Linked DNA regions of Homo sapiens: regions 1 and 2 are each linked to region 3. Evidence: promoter capture Hi-C in 16 types of primary human blood cells and fetal thymus (Javierre and others, 2016). All regions are on one chromosome and are shown on one strand. Each heading gives the region's core, a stretch centred on a gene start or on the middle of the fragment in contact. The rest is flanking DNA. Distances are from core to core; before and after follow the strand shown. Region 1 has its middle 3.4 kb from the start of DCUN1D4. Region 2 overlaps DCUN1D4 (defective in cullin neddylation 1 domain containing 4). Region 3 holds the start of POLR2B (RNA polymerase II subunit B).

The links. Contacts are between HindIII fragments. The CHiCAGO score rates a contact against its expected background, and 5 or more counts as called.
Region 1: a fragment that was not itself captured here is called in contact with the fragment with the promoter of POLR2B in region 3 in 5 of 17 cell types (non-activated CD4 T cells, naive CD8 T cells, total CD4 T cells and 2 more); the score reaches 10.5 in non-activated CD4 T cells.
Region 2: a contact is called between a fragment that was not itself captured here and the fragment with the promoter of POLR2B in region 3, in 1 of 17 cell types (erythroblasts). The highest score is 5.1, in erythroblasts.

The regions. Positions count from the first base shown.
Region 1 is chr4:51,838,413-51,841,161 of GRCh38, forward strand. It overlaps a transcript of DCUN1D4 not described here. Among named protein-coding and RNA genes, the nearest start is that of DCUN1D4, 3.4 kb to the right of the region's middle. The HindIII fragment of the contact is 1,059 bases long and covers 951-2,009 here.
Region 2 is chr4:51,855,526-51,858,385 of GRCh38, forward strand. The region is part of intron 1 of DCUN1D4 (defective in cullin neddylation 1 domain containing 4); the gene reads left to right. Among named protein-coding and RNA genes, the nearest start is that of DCUN1D4, 14 kb to the left of the region's middle. The HindIII fragment of the contact is 3,411 bases long and covers 1-2,860 here.
Region 3 is chr4:56,977,470-56,980,169 of GRCh38, forward strand. It overlaps POLR2B (RNA polymerase II subunit B), which reads left to right and starts at 1,427. Exons shown (of 25, transcript NM_000938.3): 1 at 1,427-1,535. The coding sequence starts at 1,517. It overlaps NOA1 (nitric oxide associated 1), which reads right to left and starts at 137. Exons shown (of 7, transcript NM_032313.4): 1 at 1-137. The coding sequence starts at 116. RefSeq lists an enhancer at 1,701-1,800. The HindIII fragment of the contact is 1,293 bases long and covers 1,321-2,613 here.

The DNA.
Region 1 (2,749 bases), core at 230-2,729, 5.1 Mb before region 3:
ATTCTGTCACCAAGGCTGGAGTGCAGTGGCGTGATCTCAGCTCACTGCAGCCTCCACCCATAGGGCTCAAGGGATCCTCCCACCTCAGCCACCTGAGTAGCTAGGATTACAGGCAGCTGCCACCACACCCAGATAATTTTGCATTTTTTTGTAGAGATAGGGTCTCCCTGTGTTGGCCCAGACTGGTATCAAACTCTTGGGCTCAAGTGATCCACCCACCTCAGCCTCCGAAAGTGCTGGGGTTTCAGGCATGAGCCACCATGCCCAGCCTGATTTCACTATCTTTTGAGAGCATGTTAACAACCATATTATTGTATCCTTATAAATAATCTCTGAGGTATATAGGGGCATATATTAACCTGATTAAAAAGAGAAGGAACTGGCCAGGTGCGGTGGCTCATGCCTGTAATCTCAGCACTTTGGGAACTGAGGCGGGCAGATCACCTGAGGTCAGGAGTTTGAGACCATCCTGGCCAACATGGCAAAACCCCGTCTCTACTAAAAACACAACAATTAGTCGGGTGTGGTGGCGTGTGCCTGTAATCCCAGCTACTTGAGAGGCTGAGGCAGGAGAATCACTTGAACCCAGGAGGCAGAGGTTGCCGTGAATGGAGATCCCACCACTGCACTCCAGCCTGGGCGACAGAGTGAGACTCCGTCTCAAAAGAGACAGAGAGAGAGAGAGAAAAGGAAGGAAGAAGGGAAGGAGAGAAGGAGGGAATGAGGGAGGGAAGGAAGGAAGGAAGGAAGGAGAAGGAAGGAAGGAAGAAAGGAGAAGGAAGGAAGGAAGGAAGGAAGGAGGGAAGGAAAGAAAGAAAGAAAGAAAAGAAGGAAAGGAAGAAAGAAAGAAAGAAACTAAAGCCCAACACAGGAATATTAAAAACATGGAGTCTGGCTACTTAGGGGCACGTTTACTTATTAGCTGGGTGGCAAGTTACCGAAGCTCTTGAAGCTTCAGTTAACTTACCTGTAGATTGGGGATACTATTAGTTATTAGTACTCCACTGTGTTGTTGTGAAGTTAAGTAGATTAGTTTACCAGTACAGTACTATTAGAGTAGTGCCCGTCACATAGGAAGCATTAAGAAAGAAGTTGTTATCACTTGGGACAGCAAATTCAGTTGGTCATATTTGGAGAAAGAAAACTATCCTGCCCTCTATGGATAAATTCTCCTTTCGGAGGGGGTTTATTTTCATTTCCAAATACTAGAAACCCACCTAGCCTGACATTTTATTACTAAAGGAGTTCTGCCAACTCTCTCACTGTAATCTAAGGCCAAATTAATTCCTCTCTGTCCTGTGTTCTTTCTTATTCTCTTTAAATCTTACCAGGGACACATTTATCTGTCTGTGCAGGCCCAACTTATTTTCAGTCTCAAGAACTATGCTATTCTTCCTCCTACTCCCAATCCCAACACATGCAGGAAAAGCATGCTACAGTGGGCTTAGCAGAATTTAGGGGAAAGCGTAACATTTGATTGAAGAGCTCTGCTGTTTTTTTTCTCTTACTAGACTTCTCCATATCACATTCTAATCTAGGCTTAGGGCATTTCAAAATATATCTGATTAAAATTAATATTGTATGACTAATAAAATAGAAAAATTCCAATTAAATTAGGTATCATTAACATGGAGTAACTTGCTTCAATATTACCTTAAAGCAGTAACTGGGTGAAATGAAATGGCATAAAGACTGCATCTCCAAATATCTCTACCCATCACAGTCCCAAGATATTCAATTATTAATTTTTTTCTCCAGGGATTCAAATATAAATGTACAGAAGTATAACATTATTATCTCAGTAAACCTCTCCATGGGGATCATGTTCTTTGGGAATACTACAAATGAGAAAAAAAAAAGTGAAGTATTGATTTACATATTGAAAAAAATCCTGAATGAAATACATAAAAAAGAAGGCAACATTTCAACCATGAAGCAGACTTGTATTAGATTGGCATAGTAACTTTCAGATGGGAAGGGAGAGTAGTTTACCTATCTTTGGAATTTGAAGCTTTGATATTAGACAGTGTGGTACAGGGGATAGAGTTGAGAAACCTGAATTTAAGCCCTGTTTTGTTATCAACTAGCCAAGTGACTCAGATTAAACATTTAACTCCTTTGGATGTCAAGTCTCTTATTTTTAAAATGAAGATGTTGGATTTGATAATCACCAAGGTTCCTATCCAGATCTAAAATTTCATGTACGGTAAACATTCATTTTAAGGGGTATGGTTAACCAGTGCCTACCACAATATTTGAAAGCATTGTACTAGGTGCTAGGCAAGTAAAAAGATAACTATAACAAGTTTCCTGATATCAGAGGTTTATATGGTGTGGATTATTTAAATGACCAGGTAATATTTGCAGAGCATTATGTAGTCATTTTATTATACTTTGTAAAACGTGGGGGCAGTGAGGGTCAGCCGACTAGGAATGAGCTTTGCCTCTCAATCCTTAGGCTATAGCTGACTCTTTATAAAGATCTGGGTAAATTACCTCTAAGTCTGTTTTCTACTTGAAAATAATCATACTGACTCAACTGAAAGCAATGTTGAGAAATAACAGAGGTTGTACATTCTATAAATTTTTATGGACACCATGCATATGCCAGGCCAGTGTTGGGAGCTGGGGCAAAGCAGCCGACCCATCCTTCATCTAGCTTAACTCTTATACACATTATTATAAAGTATGCTGCAAATAAATTAATAGAGCAAATGACTAGCTATAATTAATTGTGGGCTTATTGTAA
Region 2 (2,860 bases), core at 322-2,821, 5.1 Mb before region 3:
AGATAGCTGTTGGGCCTGTGAACGTCAAGGGTCATGGAGGCTGAGGGGCACAGTAAATGCAAAGGCCTTGAGGTAGGAATTCACTTGAATATTCACGAATTGTGTGGCTAGAATGGAGTAGGCAAGGATAATGGAATGGGATGACTTAGGTCAGATCACGTAGAGCCTTGTGAGGACTAGAATTTTTTTTCTTTTATGCTGCAATAGCAAATACAACATCTCAGTGATTCAAGTAAAAGGTTGTAATGCATCCTTTGTGGGTTGGAATGGGTCTCTGCTCCACATCGTTGACATTCTCATCCCTAGTCTATCTGAAACCCATGGAAAAGAGGGCATGTGTTTCTAGAAGGAAGGAAACAAGGCAAATCTAAAGAGTGGCTCCCAACCACAGTGCAGCCTTGGCTTTAACAATTTTTGTTTTCTTTTCCCATATCACGTGGTACAATTGACTTTTCAGGAGGCTGAGCCATGTGACCCATGGCTTGAAACACCCTTAAGCATTCCCTGATGAATCCCAGTTAGAGAGGCAGATCCCTATACCTCAGTCGTGTTCTTGTTCTGTTCCAGAGACATTTAGATGAGTGCCAAGGTTAGATGGTAACCTTTAATTTTGTCCAATTTTGTTTTGCTTTTTTGGCAATAACATGGTCACTATTTTGCCCTTTCCTTCTGCCGCCTTTACAGGTTTATTTCATCATTTTCATCGTCACTTGAAAAGCATTTGTTAAGAGCATAATACTGTTTAAAACTTTTATATCTGAGAGAATTGTTCAGCTGTAGTTTAATAATAAAACACTTTGATGATGCTTTAGTGACCAGAAGAGCGAATTGTGCTTAAAAATAGAAAGTTAACACTGGTGTTAAATCTTTTCTGTACCATTATTTCCCTGGGGGAAAAATGGTGAATTGTTTTAGATTCAGCCAGTTTTAAAATTTTTTTCTTTAATATTAAATTACTTTAAGTGTGTGGTTGCTTGTTGACAGCTTTGGTTAGGAAACGTTGCTGCTTTTTTCCTATTACAGAGTGTAAAGTTAGATTGATATTTTTGCTTTTATTGGAAATAATTTAGAATGGAAGAAGTAGCCTTGGATTGGGAGTTAGAAGATAAGAGTTTTGCCCAGCTTGGCCATAGCTAGCTCTCTGACTCCGCTCAAGCTAATAAAATGAGAATTGGACAAAAGAACATGAACCATTGAGTGCCTCACTTGCTCATCTCTCACATGCAGTCCTGTTAGTTTTTCCTTACACTGCAATCACATTTTATATAGAGGTTGGTTCTAAAGTCCCTGTGTAAGGTGAAGATCATTGGTGTTAAAAATACCACTGGAAACACTTGCAGAAGATTCCTCTTTGGAAGCTGTCTCAGAAGAATCCAGCACAGCCTATTCCTTCCTCCAGCATTGGAATAGATCTCTGGCTGTTTATTTGAGCACCAGTTGAAGCATCTGGCCTCGTCTTCAACTTCAGTTTAGGGACCATGTTTTATGAAAATACATCACTTTAAATACTCGACTCATACCGTATTGTGAGATGCACAAAATCTGATTGGCATGTGGAAACTGAGACCAACAGAGTGACTATTCATGTGTCATGTCTCGTGCTCATTAAGTAGAAGGGAGGGTGGGCAGTTAGTGAGACAACTGAAATTTCTTTTCATCTCGCTTCTTCCTTTTTTATTTTTTTTGACCAAATGAGAAGAGTTGAATTTGTGTAAGCTAAATATCTATTTTCTGCAACTCCAGTGTACTCAGAATCTCTCCTCTCCATTTTTACAGCCAGTGTCTAACTTACGGCCCTAATGCTTTCCCACCTCAGTCACTTCTAGTCATCTCCATAAATGGCCACTCTAAATTCAGATCACCCATCATCTTTGCTGCACACTTGTCCTAGAGTGATCTTTTTAAATAACTCTCCTGATCAGAACACCTCCATGGCACCAAGACTCTCAAAGGAGTGCTTCTCAGACTTCCCACCAATGTTTTCCTGTACAGAGTTTGGTGGAATAAGTTGTTTCAGGGTCCTGGGAGCACAGCTTGATGTGGGGATTATGTTTGTTTTCATGTAAGACTGTCATATTATTGCTGATTAGAATTGATGCTGCTGGAATGTGCCATTCCTGTCATTACGTTTGCATGGTCTCTGGTGCCTGTGTTTGAGGTACAGATCCTTAGGAGATTAAATCTAAACGCTCAAGCAGGATTCACAAGTTCTTCATTTTCTGATCTTTGCCTTCCTGTTCAGTCTCCTCTTACCATGACACTTCTCACATTTGAAGATCACTTGAAGTGCCCTGAATGTATTGAATTTAAGCCTTTGGTGCCTTTGTATCTGCGTTTATTCATTTGTTGAATATTTATTGAGCACCTAATATGTGCCAGGTACTCTTCTAGGTATTAATATTACGGGATACAGCAATGGGCAAGATTTAAGTCTTGGCCCTTGTGGAGCTTACATTCTAATGGGAGAGGATGATGACAAATATATAATATAATGTCAGATGGTATTAATGCTGTGAAGAAAAGCAAAGCATGGTAAGATGATAGAGTGAAGATGGGGCTCTGTTGGTCTGGCAAGGTTATGTAAGGAGGTGATTTTTAAGAATTTTATCCTTAATTGACAAATAATTGTATATATTTACGGAGTACAATGTGATGTTTTGATACATGCATAATTGTGGAGTGATCAAATCAGACTAATTAACATATCCATCAAAGGTGATATTAAAATGGAAACCTGATGAAGTATGAGAGCAACCATGTTATTATTAGGGGGAAGAGCGCTCAAGGTAAGGAGAACAGCACGTGCAAAGGCGCTGAGGTGGGAGTGTTCTTGGAGTGTTAATGGAGCAGTAGGAAGCTC
Region 3 (2,700 bases), core at 177-2,676:
GCGGCAGCGCACCTCCTCTCCAGGAGCGGCTCCCGGAGGCCATGGCGCGCTGCCGTGGGAGCGGATCCACGAAGGAAAAGGCTCAGCAGCCTGAACGGTAGGCGAGCGGGCAGCATGAGGAAGTAGCTCCAAAGGGGCGGAGCCACCAGCGCGCACGCGCACTAGGGTCCGAGGCGCGCATTTGACCCGAGACGAAAGCGCGTGGGTACTTGGGAGCTGTCCTGGTTGGTTTTGCGTCTAATCCCGTCAGTTCTCGCGATTTAAGCTCTGAGACTGAGAACCTACTTAAAGCTATGGCAAAGGCACTGGAGGATTGAGCTAGGTGGGCAGAAAAGAGCAGTGAGTGTTTTGGGTTTTTTCACTTTCAGGCTTAACGCCTCACTGCTAGCACAAGCCGCCCTTAATAAATCACACTTAAAAAGGAGCTTCCGGGGTCGGGCGCGGTGGCTCACGCCTGTAATCCCAGCAATTTGGGAGGCCGAGGCGGGCGGATCATGAGGTCAGGAGATCGAGACCATCCTGGCTTACACGGTGAAACCCCCATCTCTGCTAAAAATACAAAAAATTAGCCAGGCGTGGTGGCGGGCGCCTGTAGTCCCAGCTACTCGGGAGGCTGAGGCAGGAGAATGGCTTGAACGCGGGAGGCGGAGGTTGCAGTGAGCCGAGATCGCGCCACTGCACTCCAGCCTGGGCGACAGAGCGAGCCTGTCTCAAAAAAACAAAACAAAACAAAAACAGAAAGGAGCTTCCGGCCGGGCGCGTGGCTCACGCCTGTAATCCCAGCACTTTGGGAGGCCGAGGCGGGTGGATCACCTGAGGTCAGCAGTTCGAGACCAGCCTGGCCAACGTGGTGAAACCCCGTCTCTACTAAAAATACAAAAATTACCCGGGCGTGGTGACCCTTGCCTGTAATCCCAGCTATTTGGGAGGCCGAGGCAGGAGAATCGCTTGAACCCGGGAGACGGAGGTTGCAGTGAGCCGAGATCGCTCCACTGCACTCCAGCCTGGGCGACAGAGCGAGACTCCATTTCAAAAAATAATAAATAAATAAAAATAAAAAATAGCTTCGTGTTTTGGTCCTTATAAAGGCAAATAAATTGAGCATCCCAATGTTGCGGATTCACAGGACGAACACTTTTTAATAATAAGTATACCTGGTTTTGTTTTCAGGTGTCGTTATTTGTGCAACAACATTGAAAAACAAGCAGAAATAAAACATTGACGGAACGGATACGACCGCAGATTGCGGGAGCTGTCCTCTCAATCAGCCCGGCAGCGGCGGCCCACAATTTACGCGTGTGCAACCCTAACCCCGGCCCAAGCTTGACCTACAATTTGCGCAGGCGCAGATCCTAACTTTGGCGTCCCTGTGGGCGGCCTTTGGTGTGAGACGCGTGGTATTCTGGGAACGTCGGAGACGGAAGTTACTTCGTCTTTAGCTCCTGGCGCTGCTGGCTTCTGGGCGGTTTTTGTCTTTTGATTTCAAGAGTTAGGAGCTCGAGAACCGTTTGGCAATATGTACGACGCGGATGAGGGTAGGTGAACGCTCAAAACACACGCCGTGGCGGTCCATTTAAGCAGGAAAGCGTTGGGAACTGATTGGATTGAGGATTTGGGGCCTTCCCATGCGCCGGCTGCACAGTCCCCAGCCTTGTTCCCACACTTACCAGGCCGGGAACGAAACTGGGGTAGGGAGAGGCGGAGGGTGCAGGGAACATAGTGTTAATGTTCCAGGTTACGTTCACTGCTGCTCTCTGCACTTTCTCGTTCCGTTAGATCTGATCCTCGTTTCCTGTGGTGAAGTAGCGTGCAGAATCGTAAGATAAATTACGTTTTGAATTTGAAGCAAAGGGCACCCTTTAAAAATTTTCCTTAAAGCCACAGTCGACTTAACGAATAGCTCAATTGTTGAGTGTCAGCCTGTGTCAGGCAGTGTGGAAGGTCCTGGAAATATTCCGGGACAGAGAATATCGGGGGGTGGGGGTGGCGGGGGGGACTCGGTTTAGTCTGACATTTCTTCATACTGTTTGTAAGTCAAAGTAAATTGTCTTAAAGGATGACTTTTAACTTCCTCTTCTCACAATGTCACAGTTCTCAGATGATATGTATTCTGCTGCACTGGGCCAATGTATAATACCTGTTTGTTTGCGCATATGGAATTCTTAGTAGTGGCCGAGCGCGGTGGCTCCCGTCAGCACTTTGGGAGGCCGAGATGTGCAGATCGCTTGAGACCAACCTGACAAACATGGGGAAATCCTGTATCTACTAAAAATACAAAAATTAGCCTAGTGTGATGGCGTGCGCCTGTAATCCCAGCTACTCGGGAGGCTGAGGCCGGACGATCGCTTGAGCCCAGGAGGCGGAGTTTGCAGTGAGCTGAGATCGCACCACTACACCACAGCCTGAGTGACAGAGTTAGACTGTCTCAAAAAAAAAAAAAAAAAATTCTTAGTTGAGTCTAGTGTATTTTCGTAGCCGCCTTTTCCATTCTCCATATCTGCTAATTCAAACCTTATTTTCTTATAGCTCTCAATTCCTTGGCCACCCCCTACATCTCCTCTCTCTATTCCCTCAGGTACTTCTGATAAATCAGATGGAAAAAATTGAAGCAAAAGCTTAATTTTTTTTTTTTTTTTTTAAGAGATGGGGTCTGGCCATGTTGCCCAGGCTGGTCTCAAACTCCTGAGGTCAAACCATCTG